Linked DNA regions of Homo sapiens: regions 2, 3 and 4 are each linked to region 1. Evidence: promoter capture Hi-C in 16 types of primary human blood cells and fetal thymus (Javierre and others, 2016). All regions are on one chromosome and are shown on one strand. The core of a region is centred on a gene start or on the middle of the fragment in contact, and the rest is flanking DNA. Distances in the headings are between cores, read along the strand shown. Region 1 holds the start of CSGALNACT1 (chondroitin sulfate N-acetylgalactosaminyltransferase 1). Region 2 overlaps PSD3 (pleckstrin and Sec7 domain containing 3). Region 3 overlaps PSD3 (pleckstrin and Sec7 domain containing 3). Region 4 holds the start of PSD3 (pleckstrin and Sec7 domain containing 3).

Region 1 (2,701 bases), core at 202-2,701:
GTATTTTGATATTGTATTATGTGGAGTACATATGGTGTGGCAGCTCAAGGCAGACGAATTATTAAATATGTACGGTGATCTTACAATGGGTATGGCCCGTCTCTTGCTTTCTAGGAATTGACCATCTTCCGGCAGCCCAACACCTAGTCCCCTGTGTATTATGCACTATTACAAAACGTGTTCAAGTCGCCTTTTATGCCTAAGGCTTACATAAAAATTCATCTTGCCTTTCTGCGTCTATTTCCAAGTTTGAAGGACCTTTCTCCCTCCAATTAGCAACATTTCAGCACTGCACAGGGCTTATTAATGCTCACTGTTGCAAGTAACACCAAGGTAATTTGACTTTCTTGTAGGAACAATGTCGACGAAATCCTACAGAATTAAATTTAAATTTCCAGTTTAAAAAAAAAAACCGTGAAAGAACACTTCATTACCTTTATTATCTAGACGTATCTAATGACGTTAAGTAAAAACTGCACCAAGGCTTTGAAACCAGAAGAAAAGTGGAGTTTGTGAAATTTAACCACTCCATGCTTTTTATTAGTATTTCACTTATGAGTATTTCCCGAGGCTCACTGTTTTGGCAGGCACAGTGCTGTTAACATCTCTTCCTTTCTCACCATTCTTTGCTCATCGATGAAAAGATAACTTCAAAATCTCTGACAGGAATGCAGGTGCAGGAAGTGCGACGGAAACAAACAACTTTGCCTCCGCTTCCTACAGCTTTCCTCTCCTCCCCGCCCTTCTAGCCCCCATCCCACCCCAAGATCATGCCCTCGAACAGCTTCTGCCCACCGATCGCACGTCCCCTGGGCATGTTCGGGCAGCGGTGACCCTCAGCCACATCCCCCACTAGCCCGGTCCCGGGCAGGCGAGCGCGCTGCCCACCGGCCACCCTCGTCACGCCCCCTCCACCCTCTCCATCCCAGCCACAATAATACAATAACCGCAGTCATCGCGCGGCACGTGGAAAGGCTACTTTTCAGTGGGTTTTGCAGAAAGCAATCAGACAGCGGAAGGCCACGAGAAACGCTGGTGAAGCCAAACCGACCCCGGGAGCGCAGCGGCCCCGGACCCTCCCTGGAAGCTCCCTCCGCGTCCCCGCGCGCCCACCTGGAGGCGCCGCGCCCTCCGCCTGCCAAGCCGGTCCCCGGCCCCTGCCCGTGCCCTGGGCCCCCGGCGGGCAGCGGCGGAGGGAGGCCAGGCGCGGCACCGTCCTCCGCAGCTGCACGAGCCACCCCGAGGTCGCGGGGTGGGCGGGCGCGAGCTAGGCGCGCGGGGCTGTGGGGATCTGCCGGCGCCACTGACGCCCCCGCGCGGCACACCGCGCCCGGCTGGCCCGGGAGGGGACCCGACTCACCCGAAGCGCCCTGCTAGCTGCCCGGCCCGGCTCCGGCCGCTGCCGCCGTCGCTGAACTTTCCCTCCTGCGCGGCCGCCGCGGACTCGGCTCCACCTCCCGCTCCGGCAGCCGCGGAGCCTCCAGGGACCCCGGGGGCGGGGAGCAGCGGCGGCGGCGGCGGCTCGGGCGGGCGGGCGCAACAGCGGCCAAGCCTGGCGCCCCGCCGCAGGGTAGGTCCGGCGGGGGCGGCCAAGGCCGGGCTGGGGTCGCGGTTGGCCGCGTACCTCCGCGTCACCCACGGCCTCTCTGCAGTGCGTCCCTGCGCCCGTCGGAGCGGCGCCCTGGCCGAAGCCTGTCACTCTCGGAAGGGGCCGCGCTCGGACACCAGGGGCGGTTTACGCGTGACTGGACACCAAGAGCCGGAGAAGTTTAGAGACTAGGACACTGTGGCGTGGCCCGAGTTGCAGGAGAGAGGTGTCCAATCTCCATGGGGTCCTTACTCTTGCAGGACAGAGTTCCCCATCCCCCTGCTCCACCCGCTCTGTTCCCTTGGCTGCCCTCCCCGCCGAGCGCCGACTTCCATGCAAAAACTTTGTAAATCGCACTTCGGGGAATTCACGCTTTAGTCGCGGTCTCTGCTGCCCTGGTCAGCTATAACGCCTCCCCTAGAGAGCTTTTACTTACAGCGAAGGTCAGGAACCCCTGTAACTCTCACACCGCACCACTGTGGGTAAGCGATGTCTGCAGGGACCCCTGACGGCCACTGGGAGGCCAGGAGAGAAGAGGGAGAGGAAAGGCTAAAAAGGCAAGTGGAGTGTTGGGTAATAAAAGATCCACCGCCACCTCCAGCACACACAGGCAGGCACCCTCCAGGGCCACAGGTCGCCTTTTATCTGTAAGTGCTCCAGCGCATCTCTGTGGGAGAGGGAGTTGGGAAATAGGATCGCCAATTTTCAGTGTAATTGAGGGGGACTCAGGAGGAGTCAGTTAGACTGGAAGAGGTCATCACCTGCAGATGCGGTTAAGCAACTTGCAGAGGCCCCAGGGCTGAGCCACCGCAGAACCGGAGCTGGAAACCAGTCCTATGACTCCTGAGGCAGTGCTCTTTCTACTACCTGGCCATGGCTCCTTCTACTGCCTGGCTCAGAGTCTCCATCTGGGAGATTCCGGCGCACCAGACTTTATTGTGGGCACAGGGTAGGCAGTCCTGAGGCTATAGGCACAGTCTTGAAGCAGCTCGGTTTCCATTAAGCTCCTGCTTACCTGCAGGAAGCATCCCTGAAGCAAGTTTTGCTTCCCACCTGGACTCCCCAGGTGGACCTATCCCCACCCCACACCCTGAGTGAACTCTTCACCCTCGT
Region 2 (7,010 bases), core at 2,737-5,236, 860 kb before region 1:
CGAACTCCTGACCTCAGGTGATCCGCCCACCTGAGCCTCCCAAAGTGCTGGGATTACAGGCGTGAGCCACCGTGCCCGGCCTATGTTTTGTCTTTTTGATAACAGCCATTCTAGCTAGGTTGATATAATATCTCATTATGGTTTTGATTTGCATTTCCCTGATGTTCAGTATTTTTTCATATACCTGTTGGCCATCTATATGTCTTCTTTTGAGACGTGATGTGTCTGCTTATTGAAGAGACTGTCCTTTTCCCAGTGAATGTTCTTGGTGCCTTTGTTGAAAATGAGTCGGCTATAAAGATGAGATTTATTTTTCTGGGTTCTATATTCTGTTCCATTGGTCTGTGTATCTGTTTTTATGACAGTACTATGCTATTTGGTTACTATGGTTTTGCAGTATATTTTGGAGTCCGGTAGTGTGATGTCTCAAGCTTTGTTCTTCTTGCTTTGGCTATCCAGGGTATTGTGTGGTTCTAGGCAAATTTTAGGACTGTTTTTTCTATTTCTGTGATGAATGACACTGGTACTTTGATAGGGAATGCACTGAATGAGTATACTGCTTTTTGTAGTATGGCCATTTTTACCATATTAATTCTCCCAATTCATGAAAATGCAATGTGTTTTTATTTTTGCATATGCCTGCTGCAATTTCTTACATCAGTGTTTTATAGTTTTCCTTGCAGAGACATTTCATTTCCTTGGTTAAATTTTTCCCTAGGTATTTTACTTTTTGTAGCTACTGTACCTGCAATTGCTTTCTTACTTTCTTTTTCTGCTATTTGAATGTTGGTATATAGAAACACCACTGATTTTTCTAAGTTGATTTTGTATCCTGCAACTTTACTGAATTAGACGGTCAGTTCAGAGGTTTTTATTTTTTGAAGCTTTCATAGTTTTATTTATATAAGATCATTTATCTGGCTAAAACTTCTAGTACTCCTGAAAAAAAATGGAGAAAGTGGTCATTCTTGTCTTGTTCCAGAGCTAGAGGAAAAGTTTGCAGCTTTCCCCAGTTCAGTATAATGTTGGCTATGGTTTTCTCATATACGGCTTTGACTGTGTCGAGGTATGTTCCTTCTTACCTAACTTGCTGAGAGTTTGATTAAAGTGCAGTTTAAATCCAATGTTGCTTTGTTTGTTTTCTGTATAGATGATCTATCTGATGCTTAGAGGGGTGTTTAAGTGCCCAACTATTACTGTCCTGTTTAAGTGCAATTTAAATCTAATAATATTTGCTTTGATTACCTGGGTGCTCCAGTATTAGGTACATATACGTTTATAAGTGTTATATCTGCTTGCTGAATTGATCCTGTTATCACTGTATAATGACCTTCTTTGTCTCTTTTTACATGAGTTTACTTAAAGTCTGTTTTATCTGATATAGGAATGACTACATTTGCTTGCTTTTGGGTTCTGTTTGCATGGAATGTCTTTTTCCATACTTTCACATTCAGTCTACAGTTGACCTTTGAATAAGATGGGATTTAGGGGCACTGAGCACCACCACCATGCAGTTGAAAATCCACATAACTTTTGACTCTCCAAAAACTTAGCTACTAACATATTAGCCTACTATTGACTAGAAGTCTTACTGATAATATAAATAGGGAATGGACACATATTTTGCATGTTGTATGTATTATATACTTTATTTTTATAATAAACTAGAGAAAAGAAAATGTTACTAAGAAAATGATGAAGAAGAGAAAATATATTTACTATTCATTAAGTGGAAATGAATCATCATAAAGGTCTTCATCCTCAATTTCTCATTGAATAAGCTGAAGAGGAGGAGAAAGGAGTTGTCCTCATCTCAAGGATGGGAGAGGCAGAAAAGGTAGAGGAAGAAGAACAGGAAGCAAGAGAGGCAGGCACATTCAGTGTAAATGTACAGACATAATCATAGTTTCTGTCTTTTTAACTTTTTCATTTCTCCAAAAATGTTTCTTCTATACAGTACCAATCCTTCTTCCACTGTTTGCTTTAGTTTCAGTGCCCATATGATAGAAGGGTCAACATCATAAAAGAAGTCAAAAACAGTCTGGAATCATGGGAACCATTCTGCCAGATTATCTCATGTCAATTTGTTTTCTAGAACTGCTTCTTCCACGTCTTTTTCCTCATCATCTGGCACTAATTTTGAAGCACTCATCTCCAGCAATTCATCTTCTGTTAACTTCTCTGGTGTGATACCTATTTGCTCTTGAATTTCTCTGATATCTACATCTTGAAATCCTTCCTCACCACCCCTCATACCTTTTTTCCCATATCTACAATATCTTGTCATGATTTTCTTGATTGGCTCAAATGTAAATCCTGTGAAGTCCTGCACAACATCTGGATAAAGTTTTCTCCAGCAAGAACTTATTGTTTCAGATTTCAAGGCTTTCACAGCTTTTCCTTTAACAATGGAATCTTCAACGATGCAATCTTCCAGACTTTCATGATGTTCTGTCAGGGTTCTCTTCCATAGCACTAACAATTCTTTCCATAAAACACTGTGTGTAGTGAGCCTTAATGGTCCTTATGACCCCCTGATGTAGAAGCTGAATTAGAGATACTGTGTTTGGGGGCAAGCAGATGACTTCGATGTCTTCACTGTTGAACTCATAGAGTTCTGGGTGGCTAAGGGTATTGTCCTATATCAAAAGAACTTTAAAAGGCAGTCCCTTACTGGCAAGGTACTTCCTGAACTTAGGGACAAAGCACTGATGGAACCAATCCAGCAGAAGAGTTCTTGTTGTTCAGGTCTTCTTGTTATATAACCCAAAGATTGGTATCTGTGTTTATCTTTTCTATTCAAGGCTCAGGGGTTAGAAATTTATAGACAAGGGCATTCCTCATCATAAATCCAACTGTATTTGCATAAAACAATACAGTTGGCCTATCCCTTCCTGCCTTAAATCCTCGTACTCACTTCCCTTCCTTACTAATAAATGTCCTTTGTGGAACTGTTTTCCAGAAAGGGGGCACTTTTTTTCTACAAGAAAAAAAAGAAAGAAACCTGCCAGGCAGATATCCATTCTTCTCAATGATTTTCTTAATGGTGTCTGGGAACTTGTCTACTGCTTCTTGGCTGTCTGCTGCTTCTCCTGTTATCTTGACATTTTTTAAGGCAAATCTCTTTCTAAAATTATCGAACCATCTTTTGCTGGCATTACATTCTCCAAGTTTAGATCTAACACCTTCCTTTTGCTTTAAGTTGTCATACACTAACCTCATTTTTTCTTAAATCATTGTAGAGTCTATAGGCATGATTTTCTTATAGGTATCCTGCATCCACATAACAGCTACATTTTCAATATAAAAAAGTTCAAGGTTTTGTGCCTACTGAGGGAGCTGCAGTGACAACAAATTTCCTTTTCTTTTCTTACAACGGTACTTACACTGCTGGATTCTTTTATCTTGAAATGGCAGGTGACCACAGCTGCAGACCTCAATCCATTTGGTACATATCAAGCAATTCACCCTTCTTATAACATCATGAATTTTCCCTGCTTCTTGGGAGCACTTCCAGCATCACTAGTGGTACTTTGTATGGGTTCCACGGTGTTATTAAGGTTTATAGTAGTGAACTAAACATGATGAAAAATACACAAAAACCATGAGAGACAACTCTTTTTTTTTTTTTTTTTTTTTTTGGGAGACAGGGTCTTGCTCTGTCACTCAAGCTGGAATGCAGTGACACAATCATAGCTCAAACTCCTGGGCTCAAGACATCCTGACACCTCAGCCTCCCAAGTAGCTGAGACTACAGGTGTGCACCAACATGGAGATCACTTTTTAATACAACACATAATTTACTGGACAGATGAATGGTTCACATGGAGCTGTTAGCATCACACAGTGTTTTAAGCAGATACAACACTCAAGCTCATTGCAATAGCAACAACAGGTGGCTTCAACATTATTATATAGTACAGTATGTACTACAGTTAATTGTATGCAGTTATGATTTAATACTGCATCTTTATGTTTCTTTACATTTCTCGGGACTGCAAATGGCACCATGTACAGTCTGGTGTATATAAGTTTTGATAAACTTTAACTTTTTAAAGTAGATGTGTTTCTATTTCATGGTAATAAATGATTAAACTAGTATCTACATATATTTTATGAATTCATGTCACAACTCTTGTTCATTTTTCCAGTATTTCTAGTCTACATGGTTTGTCTGCAAGTTTTCTCAAATTGTTGCAAATCTCCCAAAAAATTAAACAACATATTTATTGTTTAAAATATTTGAATATAAGTGGACCTGTGCAGGTCAAAACCTGTGTTGTTAATAGTCAACAGGTAAAGTGAGTTTCTTGTAGGCAGCATAGAGCTGGGTCATGTTTTTTCATCCATTTAGCCAGTCTATATCTTTTAAGTGGAGAATTTAATCCATTGACATTCAAGGGTATTATTGATAGGCGAGAACACACTCTTGTTATTTTGTTAATTTGTTTTTGAAGTTGTTTGTATATCCTTTGTTCCTTTCTTCCTCCTTTCGTTCCTTTCTTCCTCTTTTTCTATCATTGCAGTTTGGTGGTTTTCTGTAGCCTAAGTCTTGATTCTTTCCTCTTTCTCCTTTGTGTATCTGCTCCACCAGTGAGTTTTATAATTTTGCCTGTTTTCATGATAGTGATTTTCATCTTTTCACTTCCAGATGCAGGACTCCCTTGAGCACTTTTTGTAAGGTTGGCCTAGTGGTAATGAATTCTCTCAGTTTTTGTTTGTCTGGGAAATACTTTATTTCTCCCTCATCTCTAAAGGATAGCTTTGCTGGGCATAGTATTCCTGGCTGGCAGTATTTCTCTTTCAGCTCTTTGACTATGTATCAGCCCATTCTCTCCTAGCCTGTAAGGTTTCTGCAGAGAAATGTGCTATTAGTCTAATGGAGAGTCCCTTAGATGTGATTTGACTCTCCTCTTTTTCTGTTTTTAGAATTTCCTCTTTGTCCTTGACTTGTGTCAATTTGACATAAATGTGCCTCAGGCAAAAAAGAAAAAAGAAAAAAAAAGACCTTTTTGGGTGGAATTTATTTGGAGACTTTTGAGATTCCTGGCTCTAGATGTCCATATCTCTCCCCAAACTTGGGAAGTTTTCAGTTATTATTTCATTAAATATGCTTTCTATGCTTTTTTCTTTCTGTTTTCCTTCTGCAAATCCCATAACACAAATATTTATTTACTTAATGGTGTCCCACAAGTCTTATAGGCTTTCTTCACTTCAGAGATTCTTACGCTTGATCAAGTCTTCTATTGAAGGTCTCTGCTGTATTTTTTTATTTCACTGATTGAATTCTTCAAATACAGGATTTTTATTTAATTCTTTTTTATAATTTCTCTCTCTTTGCTGAATTTCTCATTCACATGGTGAATTGTTTTCCTGACTTCATTAAATTGTCTCTCTTTTCTGTTTTTCACTGAGTTACCATAAAATTATTACTTTGAATTCATATTCCACCAAGTCATTGAATTCTTTTTCACTGAGGTCTGTTATTACAGAGTTATTATGTTTCTTTAGTGGTGTCATATTTCCTTGCCTTTTCATGTCTTGTCTCCCTGTGTTGATGTCTGTGTGGCAGATATCTGTGTGTTGATGTCTGGTGGAACGGTAGCCTCTTCCAAACTTACTAGACTGGCTTTTGTACAGAAAGACTTTGACCTTCAGTAGGGTTTTACTGTGCTGGTTGGAAAGAATGTGGTAACTGTTTCCAGACAGGTGCAGTAGTAGAGTCTCTGTGCAGACTCTTCATCTGCATTCAATGTCAGCAATAACTGTGGGTGCCTCAGTGGCGTATGTTGTAGATGTTCGTGGCAGTGGTGACAGTGGCATAGGCTGCTAATGTCTTCAGTCCTCCTATTCTCATTTTCCACACAATGGGGAGACTTAGATGAGGGGATTTCTCTAGGTGTCAGGTCTGACATGGCCTACAAGTGGCTGTAACAGCACTGAGTTGCTTGGAGTGGCTGTGGGGCCAGGGTCCTAGGCTCAGAATCTTGTGAACCTCCTGTGGCACCTGCATCTTGGAGTGCGAACTTGCTGTCTGTGAAAGGATTGGATGTAAGTTGCCCCCGGAACCAGGATCTGTGACTCAGAGCTACTCCCTAGCAGCTCAGGCTCAGGGGGCCAGGTTGTAGCTGTGATTTTACTTTTAGGGTATACAGTGAAGCACTCACCCAACTCCAGGAAAGTGATACTCTGAAGGTTTAGGCTCAAGGTGCAAGGTATGACTGCGATTTGGGAACTTGACCCGAACGGCAACTCGGGTCCCAGGGAATGAGTCACCTTGTGGTAGTGACTCTAGACCCTGGGTTGGCAGTGATCGTCAGCATCTGAGCCTCTGTGAGGCCAGGTGCAGTGGCAGCAAGTACCTGGGAATGGCAAAGAATAGCTGTTTTTTGCAGCATGGTGGGGTGAAGAGTGTGGGGTCAGGAAATAGCACATTGATGATTCCATTCCTCAAGAACAGATGTGTCCCAACAGCTCAGACTCTAGGGCCTAGACCAGCTCCACGGAAGCAGGATACAAGAGCTGTTTGGTCTATAGGCCAGTGTGTCTCAGCTAAGCCACTGTTCTACTTCCCTGTTATATGGGGTGCTATGTCAGTTCAGCCCAGGGATGTGTAGCTACTTAGCTCAGCCAGGGCACTGATACCCCAGGGACCAATGTGCTCCTTCAGCTCAGGCCTGGGGGCCTTGACTGTTCTGGATGGCCCAGGCACAGTTTCCCTAGGATGCAGGCTGCTGCTTCAGCTTAGGTACTAGGATATAGGACCTTTCTGGGGGGCCAAGGCACCGTTTTGGGGACATGTGGCACCCTCCAACTTAGGCTGAGGGAAGGTGTGACTTCTCCGAGTAGCCAAAGTACTGTTTCCCCAGGAGAAAGGGCACCACTTCAGCTCAGCCCAAGAAGGCGGGGAGAGGGGTAGGTGATGTGGCTCTACTTCTGCCTGGGGAAGTGTATGATTCTGTTTTGCAGTGCTATAAAGGAACACCCGAAACTGAGTAATTTATAAAGAA
Region 3 (7,010 bases), core at 2,038-4,537, 840 kb before region 1:
AGGTATCATCCTGTGTCAGAATCATGTTATTACTTGCCTGTTTCTCCAACCAGACTTCACAGTCAGGCTGTAGGCTTCATATTTCTACCTCTAGCCCAGCAACTACAGGTATTCACTGAATGCGTGTTGAAAAAGTAAATACTTCCAGGAATGTACTGAAGGAAGTTTTTAGCATCTGGTACTTGACATACTAATAAACAAAAAACTAGGCCTCTTGATTCTTTGCCCAGGCCTGTTCCCAGTACATCAGCATTTCTCCAACTGTGTTCCAATAACATCCATTCAGAAAATGTGAATAATGTGTGGGTTTCCAGCTATGCAACACAGCTTCCAGTTCCACCAACCTGTCAAACTTCCACCACCCTCAAAGCCTCTCACCCCACCTTTTTGGTCTTCTACGTGGAGGGAGGGCACTGTACCTGTACCGTGCCCCTTTCCCTGGTTCCCACCATTCAGTCGTCATTCATAAGTGCCAGTTCAGACCCGGGGAAGACTATCTGGTCTTGCAATATTTTTAATAATCCTCTAAAGCTTGGCTAAAGACCGCCCTGAAACTCACCAGGCTCTACAATTTCCTTAATTCTCCTTTCTACAGATTAAGGTTTTGCCTCTTGGATTCTTTTTTTTAAGCACTAGTCCCTATCTTCATGATTTTCAAAGAATATCTAGAGTGGATATATAATTTACCTGCAAATATGCTCAGTTTCTTAGGATATTATGCCTCAGAGTTTAAATTCATACAAAAGGAGCCAGGTGATCTCTTCCGGGGCTTCAGCTTCTTCTAGCAGTGTTTGTTCTACCCTTTCAAACAAGCTGACTGTACTCCTTGATAGAGAAACGCCAGCCAGGAAGGAGTTTCGTATCTCTGCTTTATCTCAGAAATCTCTTAGCATTACCTCACACACCCTTAGAAAGGAGCCCCACCTTTCCTTTTTCTCTTTCTTTTTCACACACCACACAGTTATTGCCCCTGACCCGTGAGAACAGGATTGCTCAAGCAGCCATCCAAGGACTACCTGAATCGGGATCATCCGAGAGCTCATTCAATACTAGATTTCTGAGTCAAACAGAATCAGAATTACTGGAGTGAGGTTCAAGAATCTGAATTTTTAACAAGCATGGAAAGCATCCAAGGTGGAAACAGATCGTTGGCTTGCAAGGTGGGGCGGGGCAGGACTGGGGCGGCCAGGATCCCCAGAAACTGTCACCTGCAGCCCAAGACCACTGCTTTCCTTCACTTCCCTGCGCAATACAAAGAGTGTAATTTTCTATGTGCGCCATTTGTAGGGACATGGATGAAATTGGAAATCATCATTCTCAGTAAACTATCGCAATAATAAAAAACCAAACACCGCATATTCTCACTCATAGATGGGAATTGAACAATGAGATCACATGGACACAGGAAGGGGAACATCACACTCTGGGGACTGTGGTGGGGTGGGGGGAGGGGGGAGGGATAGCATTGGGAGATATACCTAATGCTAGATGACGAGTTAGTGGGTGCAGCGCACCAGCACGGCACATGTATACATGTGTAACTAACCTGCACAATGTGCACATGTACCCTAAAACTTAAAGTATAATAAAAAAATAAATAAATTAAAAAAAAAAAAAACAATCACAAAAAAAAAAAAGTTTCATGGAGTTTCTAGAATTTCCTAGAGAACTACTAAATTAGTATTTCTAGGGCAGGTTCACAATGATCATTTCCAAAACTTCTACAGGACAATCTAATGTGCCCTGATGCTTAGGAACCATCGCTTTAAAACAGCAATTCTCAACTCTTTAAGGGCAAAAATACCTTTTCGTAACATTTTGCAATGCCTTCTTTATTATCCTACAGTGAAATCCATCAACAATATAACTGCCTAAATATAAAATTCAAAATAATCCATATAATGCCCTAAATATCACAAAGGGGAAATAAAATTAAAATGATTTTCATTACATAAATGCTCAGGTTAGTCAGACACTTGCTTGTACCTAAAGGAGAATCATGCTGAAAGCAAGGTTCGAGTGTGGACAGATACAGCGGTATTGAAATGGTGATGCGGGAGCATGAGCGCTGCTTTCTTGGATGTGATACTTTGAAATAGTAAACAACTTTTAGTAAATTTGCAAACAAAACAAAGTATAATCTTCTCTCGATTTACATGGTAGTTACAGTCCTAGAAAACTCACTGATACTTAAAACCATTTAAGTAAAAAACCTTTTATTGACATATCCTAAGGCCGGATCATTAGAAACATATTTTTCTCCTACATGAATGTCCAACAGGACATTCGAGGCCATACAGAATGTAGAATAGTTCTTCCTGGTGTGGTACTATCCCAGGGACTAAAACTTGTCTAGCATGCCTCATCACCACCTATTAAAGGCTAGTAGCCACCTAGCCCTCCATCCCCAATCACTGTGATAACTAAAAATATACCCAACCATTCAACCTCCCCAAACAATATGAATAGAGGTACCTGTGTCAGGCTATAGTATTATTTTCCCTTGTGACACTATCATACATGATAGTGACTCCAGAATCTCTGCGTGATTCTACCTATACTTATAATATTTTCAAAAGCAAATATTTACATAAATTCTACCATAACAGAAATTGCTGGTGAAATTCTACATGAATGGAATGACAGTTTCACAGATATGAGAAACCTTCTTCAGAAATCCTTGAAAAAACAAATGTAAACTACTTTTTTTAACAATCAAATTGCATTTTCCTGTTGACATATTTCAATTTCAGAATTATCTTCTCACTATTAGTATTCAATTGGCAGTGGTTCCTAAGCAGTTCAGCTCTGCATGTCAGTAAAATATATCAAACTACAGTTTAAATGTATTAAATGATTCCAAAATGCATCCTTTTAGTGTTAAAATGGTTTATAAACATCTCAAGTAAATTATCTTTTAAAACACAATGGTTCTCGAGCCTGTATGTGCATGACAACAAACACTAGGGGAGATGCTTAAAATGTAGAGATGCTTGGGTCATCCCTTGCCCACAGATTCTAACTGCATAGGCATGGGTTAAGTAGAGCCTAGGAAGCTTTATTATTTCTTAAAAGGTCTACAGGAGATCCTCATGCTGGCAGAGGCAGATCTAGTTTTGTGGGTCCTGAAACCTACACACAACTGGGCAGGTGGTCACGGGGAGTCTCTTTAAGAAAAAGAACAAAAAAATGGCAGGTTTCTGGGAGCCTTGGGAATGCTTCCTGCATTGGCTTCATAGAAAATCCATCTCTGGATGCTACTTGGGGTTGCAAAGTGTGACATAATGAAACTCACAACTGGAACACATGGGCAAAAGTATAAAGTCATACACTATGTATGCAGAGGCCATAAGCCCAGTGTTCACGGGCTTCAGGAGATAATATAAATGAGTAAGGCAGGCAAGGTATGAGAACACAGGAGGGAGTGGTGACCAAGTACCTGTGCTCTGAAGGCACCAGCACTATTTCATGTCAATGCCAAGGCACACTCAGTGTTGGCATTCCTCAAATTCAGCAACAGAAGCTTCAAGTCTGGATTTTTACATGAAATCTCCCAGTTTTTAAAAGTTAGCTCAATATTTTAATAAAACATTGGTTAGACCAAATAAATCATAAGTTAAAAATGCCAGTATGTCACTTCTGCTTTATAGAAGGGAAAAGATATTTCCTACCTAAAAATAAAACTGAAGAGTAGATAGTTTATTCAAGGATCCATGAAGGGAGACTGCTAAAAACATACTTTGTGAGTCAGTTCATACACCTGACAATGAAAAAACGGTTTGTTCAGGGATTCTGCAACATCTCAAGGACCTAAAGTTTACTCTAACACGTCCTAACGGAACCCAAAGAGTTCTGTAAGTCAATAAAAGGCAAGCTCTCCAATATAAAACTCGTGAACAGGAAAATCTTTCAAAATGAATCATAAATGGCTAATAAGCACATGAAAAAAGTTTGACCTCAATTACATCTGGTGCAGCAAGTCTGTGGAGATTAAAGTTCTCAGTTCTAATTATGACATTCTGAGAACACAGGAATAAACTAAACGGAAGTGCTTTTCCTATTCTCTCACTCAACCTACACAGAAGACTTCTGTGACCAAATGTTTTCCCCACAAACCGAGCAAGCAATCAATTCTGCAGGATACACCACCTGGGTGTCCTGTAATTCAATTCAACTGCAATACTATCTAACTCGAGACAGTATTAGATCCCACGGGTTGGGGACTCAGTCTCCAAGACTGCCCCTTCCCTTCAGATGCCCATCTAAAGCCGTAGGTTGTTTCACCTGCGCTTCTGACTGGCTATAAATCAGGATTCTCACAGCCCCCTCCTTGGGTTCGATTAATCTGCTAAATCAGCTCACAGAACACAGGGAACCACTTATGTTTACCAACTTCTGATAAAGGCTGTTACAAAGGATACAGATAAAGGGATGCATGGGGCAAGGCATGTGGGAGGGGGCAGAGAGTTCCATGCCCTCTCTGGACACACCGCCGTCCTGGAACCTCCATGTGTTCGTCTTTCAGGGAGCTCTGCAAACCCTGTCCTTTTGGGTTTTTATGGAGGCCTCATTAGTAAGCATGATTCACTCAATCATTGGCTATTGGTGATTTCCTTAAACTTCACCCCTCTCCCCTCCCCAGAGGTTAGGGGATGGGACTGAAAGTCTCAACCCTCTAATCCAGGGGTGTCCAATCTCTTGGCTTCCCTGGGCCACACTGGAAGAACTGTCTTGGGCCACAGATAAAATACACTAACACTACCAACAGCTGATGAGCTTTGAAAAAAAAACCTCATAATGTTTTAAGAAAGTTTAAAAATTTGTGTTGTGCCACATTCAAAGCTGTCCTGGGCTGCATGTGGCCCATGGGCTGTGGGTTGCATAAGCTTGCTCTAAGCTTGGACAAGGTAGCCCCATTCTAAAGCCACATAAGGGTTGCCAGGCATCAGTTAATTCATTAGCATACAAAAAGACATACCACTTTGAAAATCCTAGAAATTTTAAGAGGAAACTCAGAGGGAAGACCAAATATAGTCATGTGCCACATAATGACATCTGGCTCACCAATGACCACATATAGGACGCTGATCCATAAGATTATAATGCCATATTTTCACTGTACCTTTTCTATGTTTAGACATACAAAGACCACTGTGTTACAATTGCCCACAGTATTCAATACAGTAATATGCTGTGTAGGTTCGTGGCCTAGAAAAAACAGGCTAAGCCATAGAGCCTAGGTGTGCAGTAGGTATACTATCTAGGTTTGCGTAAGTACATTTTATGATGTTTGCACAAAGATGAAATCGCTTTATGACACATTTCTCAGAATGTGTCCCTTTCTTTAGATGACACATGGCTGTATATACTTCACAGTGTTAGATGTGATGTCCACTGCTGTTCCAAAGCTGATTTGATCCTACTCTCAAAAAAGTCAAATCCTGCTCCTCAGCTTTTCAACAGCTACTTTAAATATATATATATACATATATGTGTGTGTTTTATATATATATACATATATTAAACACCAATCTAAAAAAATAGATCTTGTAGACAAAAACACTGAACAGACAGTAGAAATATGCTTTTCAGTATGCTCTCCTGGTTGATTTCTGCAACACTTCTTAGTTATCTTAGTATATAAAACACCAAGTAATTCCAAAGAAGTAGTTAAGGCTACCAGCATACAGCCCATTCTACAGATACGTGGGCCAGTGTGGAATAAGGTGGAACCTCTAACTTACTATACCAAAAACCCTAGCCAAAGAGAAAGTTATAGTCACTTCCTGGCCCACTTTGTCAAGCCAAAACAGACCATTGGAAACTACTGCGTATCAAGCAGAGGCTGTGGTACAGCTAAAATAATGGAGAACATATGGTCAGTTTAATAACGGCCAAGGAATAGTGAGCAAGTCTAACACATACTTGTTATTATACTGTAAAATCATTTTTCTGCTTTCCATAATGGGTGGGAAGGAGGCTGGAGAGTGGAAAGAAAGGAGCAAAATAAATAAAAATGGCCAAACATAGAAGATTTTCTAAAGGACTAGCCACAAAATTATAAACCAACTTCTATCCGTGGTGAAAACAAGAAAATAAATCAACAGAAAACCTGAGAATTAGCAGATTTGTCATTTCTTCCTTTGTTTATTTGTGGTATTCTATCCCAGCCCACATTTTTCCTAAAGCAATAACTCGTAGGTTTCCTGGGTCCTGCAGCCAGATGCAAAGATCTGAATAGGCATGAGTAGGGGCTGAGCTGCCATGCTACTTTTTTCTTGTCTTGCTCTCCAGGAATTCCGTGTGTATGGTGAGGCGTCTACCTAAAGCAGACGCTCAACATTCACCCAACACATTCTATCTGTTATTCAGAATTATTCAGCTTCTTCTTTGCACTAAAAAGAAAAAATAACTAACTCAAAATGGGCCACAGACATAAAGGTAAGAGTTACAACTATAAAACATGGAAGGAAATACAGGACTAAGTTTTCTTCACTTAGGCAATGGTTTCTAAGACATGACATGGGAAGTACAAGCAACAAAATAAGAGATATAGATAACTGGACTTCACCAAAATTAAAACCTTTTGTACTATAAATGATGACTATGAAGAAAGTGAAAACATAACGAATACAATAGAAGACAGTATCCAGAGTCATACAATTAAGAAGGGGCTTGTATACAGATTATAGAAAGAGTGCTTTCAACTCAATCATAAACAGACAAATAAGCCAATTAAAAAACACAGCTGGGCCCTGTGGCCAGGAGTTTGAGACCTGCCGGGGCAGCACAGCCAAACCCCATCTCTACAAAACATTTAAAAATACAAAAGTCAGCCGGGCATGGTGGCGTACACCTGTGGTTTCAGCTACTCAAGAGGCTGAGGTGGGAGGCTCACTTGAGCCCAGGAGTTCAAGGCTGCAGTGAGCTATGCTATGATTGTGCTACCACACTTCCAGGCAACTATCTCTAAAAGTATATATATATATATATACACACACACACATATA
Region 4 (7,010 bases), core at 2,580-5,079, 740 kb before region 1:
CTGAGAGGCAGGGGTTGCAGTGAGCTGAGATCGCACCATTGCACTCCAGCCTGGGTGACAGAGTGAGATCTTGTGTCAACAACAACAACAGAAAAATCAGGACTTAACAAGAAACTTAGAAAATGCTGCTTTCTCAGAAGACCCGTGTGAAAATACCATGTAAGAAAAGAACACCAGCTTAGGTCAAAATGTTAATTTTCCCAGTTATCCTAAATCCCTAACTCCAATAATAATCTTTTAAAAATATCCTTCAACATGTATAAATTATTCTGATTCATCTCACTGATGTACACTCAGAGGAAAGGGAATTTCAAACCAGATGGCTCAGGAGTGAGTGGTCCTCAAGTAAGCCTCAAGGAGTGAGTGGTCTGCCATGGCCGCAGCCTGACATGCAGGAAGGGGAGAAGAGCGGGCGGATCCCTCACACCACCGGTGTCACCAAGAGAGAAAATGCTCTGCCACCTCTGTGCCCTGATGTGTCAACAAAGTCCCTCCCCACTAGGCACCAACTGGGCCCAAGTTTGTTGACCTTCTGGGCGCAGTGAAAAACCTTTCTTTTGGTAGAGCAAACAAGCACTGCAGGGACATGCACTGTTTTTATATAAATAAGATAGCACACGCAAAGATTCATTATTAATGTTGAGTTATGCCTTATTTTCAAATGAGGCATGGACATTTGGTAATTTGGATTTAAGAATAACTTGTTAACTATATGCTGCAAATTATCCTTTTTCTCCATTGTAAATTGCAACAGCCACTACAACACTACTTAATTTGGAGCTTGTGAAAAATGTCCTTGAAAGATGGTCAACGTAACTCAGAAACACTCTTTGAAAAAATAATGCCACCACTTAAATTCTTTCCAGCAAATCCCTGAGTCTGCATACAATATCACAAACAACACAAGCTGTCAAGATATGGGCACTCCGAACAAATGCTCTGGAGAATTTCACATGGATCCTGTACTCTCCTAAATGAAAGCCAGGCTGGTTTAACTGTAAAAGAACTAGGAAGAACTGAGAGGCAATATTCAAAGTGAAAACACTTCCACTCTTAGCAAAGGGAAGCCAAGGACCTCTGTGCTTGGCCCAGACGGTCCGGGAAGAACCCCTAAATGGTGAGAATCACAACAGCAGTAATTCAAGGTCACACTAGATCCCCAGCCTCCTATAAGCCTGATTCACATACTAAACTCCACAGACTTTGGTCACCAGATTATTTTTTACAGTCTGACCCAACTTCAATCATGTCTGAATTCCTTTCCAAAAATTGGAAACGATCACTATCCATAACTCACCTCCCAATCCAACCCAAACCCAAAGACACTCTTTTCATAATGTCCAAATGACATTACCCCATGTAAACCTCAAACAAACCAGTCTTTAAGCCAAAGCAGATACACATTTTAATATTCACATGGTTTTGCCTCAGCATCTCTTAACCAAGACTGCAATTAACCTATCACCACACTGGTGTCTTAGTTTATGAATAATGCATGACAAATCACACCTGAATTTCTATAAAAGAAAAAAAATCACCTCCAAAAGTAGTAGTACCATGGACATGTTTTTTCAATGTAATGCCACGCTAAATTCCACTCAAATAATTTTCCATCAGGGCTGGCAAACAAATATGTAAATATCAAGGTTTTAGAAAGAGGGCAGAGCCATTGACTGAAAGTACCTTTAAATTTTTCTTTTTCAATGAGCTACTTCCATCTTACTTTATTTTTTTATTTCCAAATTCCCAAGATTTACTAGCCTGTAAGAATTTCCAAGGTTACTCAATTTTTTAAATTACTAGTATCTGATTAAAAGCAGAATTGAATTGCTTAAGTGCAATGTACATAATAAGGTATATGTTATTCTTTGGTCACAAATGAACAGTGTCAACAAAACTTTCTTTAAAGAAAACACACATTAAGATTGGCAAATCAAGCTTCTTATGCTCGCATTTAAAAAAAAAAAAACAACAACAACATTCAACCACGGAATTTGGCCGTAATAAGGTTATTTTAGCTTTGTAGCTCTAATCACTCTCCCACATTCAATGGTCAGGATAAGAGTGCTGATCCATTCACAGAACACACAAACAGATATTTAGAATGTGAAATTAAGAGTACATCACTGAATAAGTAATGCATAAAACGTGTCTAGGCATGGAAATATCAAATGGTAGGGCTAGAAGGCTCTGAAAGAGCATCTACCTAATCCCCTCACCCTACCAGGAAACTGTAGCGACAGAAGTTAAATAATTTGCCCAAGACGGTGGCAAAAACTCACCCAGTCAGTGGCAAAGCCTCTAAGCTAGGTGTCCTACCTACAGATCCAAGTCCCTTTCTTGATACCACTCTACTCCTTTTAGTACAAAAAGCTTCTATTAATGAAATATCTTACAAGACAAATCACTTGTGGATGGATATAAAAAGGTTGTGGAAGGACATCCAGCCAGCCACTAAAAACTGGTTGAAAAGGTGCTAATTTATTTTGCATTTGCTTAACTGGTGATGTTGAGCATGTTGCACTTTTAACTGCTGAAGAGGAATTTCATGACTTTTTGAAAAGAAAACCTCTTGGTTTGTAAATACTCTCAGAAAAGAAAGGATCATTTCTTGGAAAAGGGTAGAAAGTGAATTCCCTTTCCTTTAGCAGGGGACATCCTTTCCCTCACATCTCACAAAAATCCAATCAACCCCTCCCTTTCAAGGTCCAGCATAACTGCCAGCTCCTCTCTGAGAACTTCCAAGCCCGGAGGCCAGAAGCTTCCTCTGAGATCCTCCATGGTAGCCTACGCATAAGTCTCTCCCAGGCAAGCTCTCAAGCACGCTTCTTGAAAGCAGAAATCCTATCCTACTTACCTAGCTACCGGGCTTTGCAAAATCCTTTGCACATACTCAATTACAACGAACGCATTGAGGCATTTGTTGCCAGAATCCCACTTACAGTAATTTTCCAGATCTCCGTCTTCCCTACACCAACACCTGGACCCACTCAAGAGTTATTCTGGAGCGGAAATCCTGGATCCCGCTATCGGGAGAACCAGTGTCTAGAAAATGAAATCGTGGTGCCCATTCCATCCTCTGCCTAGTGGGCGTTTAACATCCTTTGACATCGAGGGGAATGGCAAAACGAAACATTTATTATTTAGGTCACCAACAACATTCTAAACCCACGTCCTCTAATCGGTGTTAATGTGTTTAAAAAAAAAATTCAGAACATCATTCGCCAGAACGGAAAGCTGAAAACGGCGGATAAAGTTAAATGCATGTAAAACAGAATGACTTAAACATCTGTAAAAGCTCCTGGGAATTGCACCGAATAATCTTCCCTTGTCCGTTTGCTCGCTCAATTCAAGTTTGTTTAGTTTAGTCTTTTTTTCTTTCTTTCTGACAGAAACGTGATAGTCCCTAAATACAAGCTGACCGGGCAAAGAAAGATCGGCATACGAGGTCCTCTTTCATGTTGCCTTCTTTTGATAGCTTTTCTCCAAAGTCTGAGGTTTTCAAAGCCGAGGTATGAACTAAAACCCCTAAACCTTAACACCACAAAGTTGACCCTGCTGGGCTCCTAAAAAACACAAAGCAAGCAAGCGCGAAGAGAAAAATCGCACCCTGCACCTATCCAGACAGCACAAACCCAGGTGGCCCCGGGATCCTGGGGGACAGAGCGGCGACAAAGCAACACAAACCCCACGTCGAACAGCGGCGCCGCGTGCGCACCCCGCGCCCGCGCCCCGGCCCCGGAGCTCACCGCTGCGCTCCTTCCTTCCATCTTCCATCGCCAGCCCGGCCGCGCGCCGAAACCGCCGCCGGGCGCTCCGGGGCCGCAGCCTCAGGGCGCGAGTGCCGGCGGCCAGCGCCGCGTGCTCTTTGTTGAGCTCCCGGGACTGCCGAGAGGCGGCGGCCCGCGCGCACCCTGGCGGAGGCTGGCGAGGCTGCGAGCCCGCGGCAGCCGCCCGCCCGGCCCCCAGTAACGTCAAAGCGAAGGCGGCGCAGGCGGGCCGGCGGTGGCGGGCCCCGGGGGCGGAGGGCGGAGGGCGGAGAGGCGGGGCCGACGCCTCGGGGAGGGGGGAGGTGGCTGGGCCTCCGAGGCGGGGGCGGGGTCTCCAGGGCAGGGGCGGGGCCTCCGGGGGAGGCTGGAGGCGATCCAGACCCTCGCAGTGCAGCCCTCGAGCGGCCCGGACCGTCCGCTGCCTCCCGCAGCCGCGCGCCCGCCCTGGGCCCAGCCTCCAGCCCGCGAGCGAAAACCTGCCTGTTGCTTTGTCTTCTTCCTTCACAGTTTTCCCACCCTGAGAAAAGTGAGAGGTGCTTTCCCTGGTGTTTCCTCTCAGGAAGGGCCGTGTGACTGGAGCCGCGAGTTGGGCGCCGTCTCGCCGGGGCTGGAGGTACGCGGGCTTCGGGACACGCACCTAGGCGTCCCTCGGGGTCCCGGCCTCTCTGACCGGGCTCCCCCGGCACCGATCCGCGGCCGGAGCGTTTAGTCCCGGGGACCCGTCGAGCCCTGAAAGGGCCATTTCCCCCTGAGGCGAGTCCCCCCAGGCGCCCCGCAGCCTGGCCTCGGGACTGCCCCCACCGACAGTGCGTGCGCGGGGAGAGGTCACTTAAAACTGCATTTTCGAACATTAGTGCCCCGGACCCGCACCTTTTTTCCTCCGTCCTTTGATCTGTGCCGCAGAGGCAAGGGCTGGAACGGCGCCCTCCCCTGGTAGAGGGACGGAGAGACCGCAAATCTTTCCCCCTGGGAGGTCCGTTAAGTAGATCCAAGCACCTGGAGGCGGAACCTGTGTGGCCGGCTACAGGGTGGTCCTGTGTATGTGTTACCGCCTTATTGTTCCAAAGAACAGTCTTTTTCAAGTGACAGGTAGAAGACGCCCCAATAACGAGAAGTGACTGACTTGGCCAAGCTTAGAGATGGGAGTGGAGTCAGGTTCCCTGGTGGCCCCACGATCTCGCCCACCATGTCAGCATGGGCTGCCCGGTGAGCATAGCTGAGATGCACCAAGGCCACATAAGTCACCTACTTTGCCTTGGCTGCCCCATCTGCATCTATCAAAGGAAGCCTTGGACACCCACCAGAGGAGCCAGCATGAGGGAGTGTATGCCTTTATACAAATTCACTCCAACTTCAGAAAAACGTCCGCAGCTCATGCTCCCCCTGCCAGAGCAGCAGTGTGAGCAGCTGTGTAGGTTTGGAAGCACCCCAGTCACTTGGGCATTGATATGGTTTGGCTGTATCCCCACCCAAATCTCATCTTGAATTGTAAGTCCCGCAGTTCCCAGGTGTGTGGGAGGAACCTTGTGGGAGGTGATTGAATTATGGGGGCGGGTCTTTCCTGGGCTGTTCTCGTCATAGTGAATGAGTCTCACGAGATCTGAAGATTTTAAAAATGGGAGCGCTTGTTGCACAAGCTCTCTCTTGGCCTACTGCCATCCGCTTAAGATGTGACATGCTCCTCCTTGCTTTACGCCATGATTGTGAGGCCTCCCAACCATGTGGAACTGCAAGTCCAATAAACCTCTTTCATTTGTAAACTGCCCAGTCTCCGGTGTGTCTTTATCAGCAGTGTGAAAATGGACGAATACAGGCATATTTCTCGTTTGTGATCTCCCTTTACCCTTGCGTACATACCCTACAGAGACAGTCCCAGTGTGCCTATTCCCAGTCAACTCCTGCCTTCCTTGACGGTTTTGTTGGCAAAGCATCAAAAGTAAGACCCAGTACAAAATGTAGTTGCTACCCTGAGGCTTGACCACTGGCCTACTGGCCTTTACCTGGGAAATTAACCAACTCATAAACAAACAAAAAAAAGTAATCATATAGGAGGCAGGGTGGACATAGATTTACTTGATATTTCTAGTTAAGGGACTTGGGCATAGACATCTATAATCTGAGCCTCTGTTTCCTCATTTATAAAATTGGGTTAATAATGCCATACAGAAGTGTTATTAGCATGATAAATTAAGGAAAGCTCCTGGCCTATAGTGAATGTTCAATAGAGGAGCATTTCATAAGTGAAGCCACAGAAATGTGTTTCCAATTTCCATCGCAAAGGAAATTTTTAATTGGTTTTATCCCTGAAGCCAAAATATTTTAAGATTGTACTTATAAAGCTGATCACATCTATTAAATAATCATTCATTCGTCCAGTTATAAATAATCAAAGATAAAATGGTTAGAGGTTCTGATCAGCATAAATTAGCCAGTGTTACCACTACTAAGTCAATGAAGCCTAAAGCAAATCAAATAAACATTGACATTTCATTTTTGCCAGCATGTATTTTGTGTGTAAATATTTTGTTAGGCTTTTGGAAATATTAAAAATGAAGTAAGAATCCCCATTTCTGCTACCATAGCCCCCAGTGCTCAAGTTCAGTGTCAGAATACACAAGCACCCGCCTTGGTAAAAAAAGAAAGGAGGCACGCAGACCACCTAGGCATGGGCTAGTGTATATTTATCCAATAACATATTCCTCCCCCACCTCTTCCCATGAGCCCTAATGTATGTGGTGTGGAGAGACTATATAGTAGGCAAGACATTATATACTGCAGGTCAAAAGAAGAAAAGGAAGATGAAATTCCATCATGTATTATTCATGCATACAGTTAATCCTTCCTATTTCTGAAGGTCACTGAAAAGCCCAGATTATTGAATATTTATTTTTTAGTACAACATGAACGTTTATTTAGAATGACAAAAATCTCAAATACAAATTTCTAAGAGTTGACAAATCCCACAAACATTACCAAATCCAGAAAAATCACACAATAGTTTTATCTACCACCTACATAATATTTTGTAGTAATAAACTTCCTAAAACACTTCAGTAATATTTGTCTTCACCTGTTTTCTGCTGCTATAAGAGAATACCACAGACTAGGTAATTAATAAAGAAAAGAAATGAATCTCTCACAGTTCTGGAGGCTGGAAGTCCAAGAGCACAGCAACAGCACATGGTGAGGGTGGTTCCATGGTGGAAAGCATCACATAGCAAGCAAGCACAAGAGACGGGA

What was found. Contacts are between HindIII fragments. The CHiCAGO score rates a contact against its expected background, and 5 or more counts as called.
Region 2: a fragment that was not itself captured here is called in contact with the fragment with the promoter of CSGALNACT1 in region 1 in 2 of 17 cell types (naive CD4 T cells and non-activated CD4 T cells); the score reaches 7.0 in naive CD4 T cells.
Region 3: a contact is called between a fragment that was not itself captured here and the fragment with the promoter of CSGALNACT1 in region 1, in 5 of 17 cell types (naive CD4 T cells, non-activated CD4 T cells, fetal thymus and 2 more). The highest score is 10.9, in naive CD4 T cells.
Region 4: a fragment that was not itself captured here is called in contact with the fragment with the promoter of CSGALNACT1 in region 1 in 1 of 17 cell types (fetal thymus); the score reaches 5.9 in fetal thymus.

Annotation. Positions count from the first base shown.
Region 1 is chr8:19,755,826-19,758,526 of GRCh38, forward strand. It overlaps CSGALNACT1 (chondroitin sulfate N-acetylgalactosaminyltransferase 1), which reads right to left and starts at 1,452. Exons shown (of 9, transcript NM_001354483.2): 1 at 1,361-1,452. The HindIII fragment of the contact is 8,664 bases long and covers 1-2,701 here.
Region 2 is chr8:18,897,026-18,904,035 of GRCh38, forward strand. The region is part of intron 2 of PSD3 (pleckstrin and Sec7 domain containing 3); the gene reads right to left. Among named protein-coding and RNA genes, the nearest start is that of PSD3, 110 kb to the right of the region's middle. The HindIII fragment of the contact is 6,209 bases long and covers 883-7,010 here.
Region 3 is chr8:18,918,414-18,925,423 of GRCh38, forward strand. All of the region lies in intron 2 of PSD3 (pleckstrin and Sec7 domain containing 3), which reads right to left. Among named protein-coding and RNA genes, the nearest start is that of PSD3, 92 kb to the right of the region's middle. The HindIII fragment of the contact is 467 bases long and covers 3,055-3,521 here.
Region 4 is chr8:19,009,814-19,016,823 of GRCh38, forward strand. It overlaps PSD3 (pleckstrin and Sec7 domain containing 3), which reads right to left and starts at 3,890. Exons shown (of 16, transcript NM_015310.4): 1 at 3,750-3,890. The coding sequence starts at 3,770. LOC124901898 (a long non-coding RNA gene) reads left to right here and starts at 4,190. Exons shown (of 2, transcript XR_007060840.1): 1 at 4,190-4,383. RefSeq lists silencers at 3,774-3,873, 3,944-4,033. The HindIII fragment of the contact is 2,141 bases long and covers 2,760-4,900 here.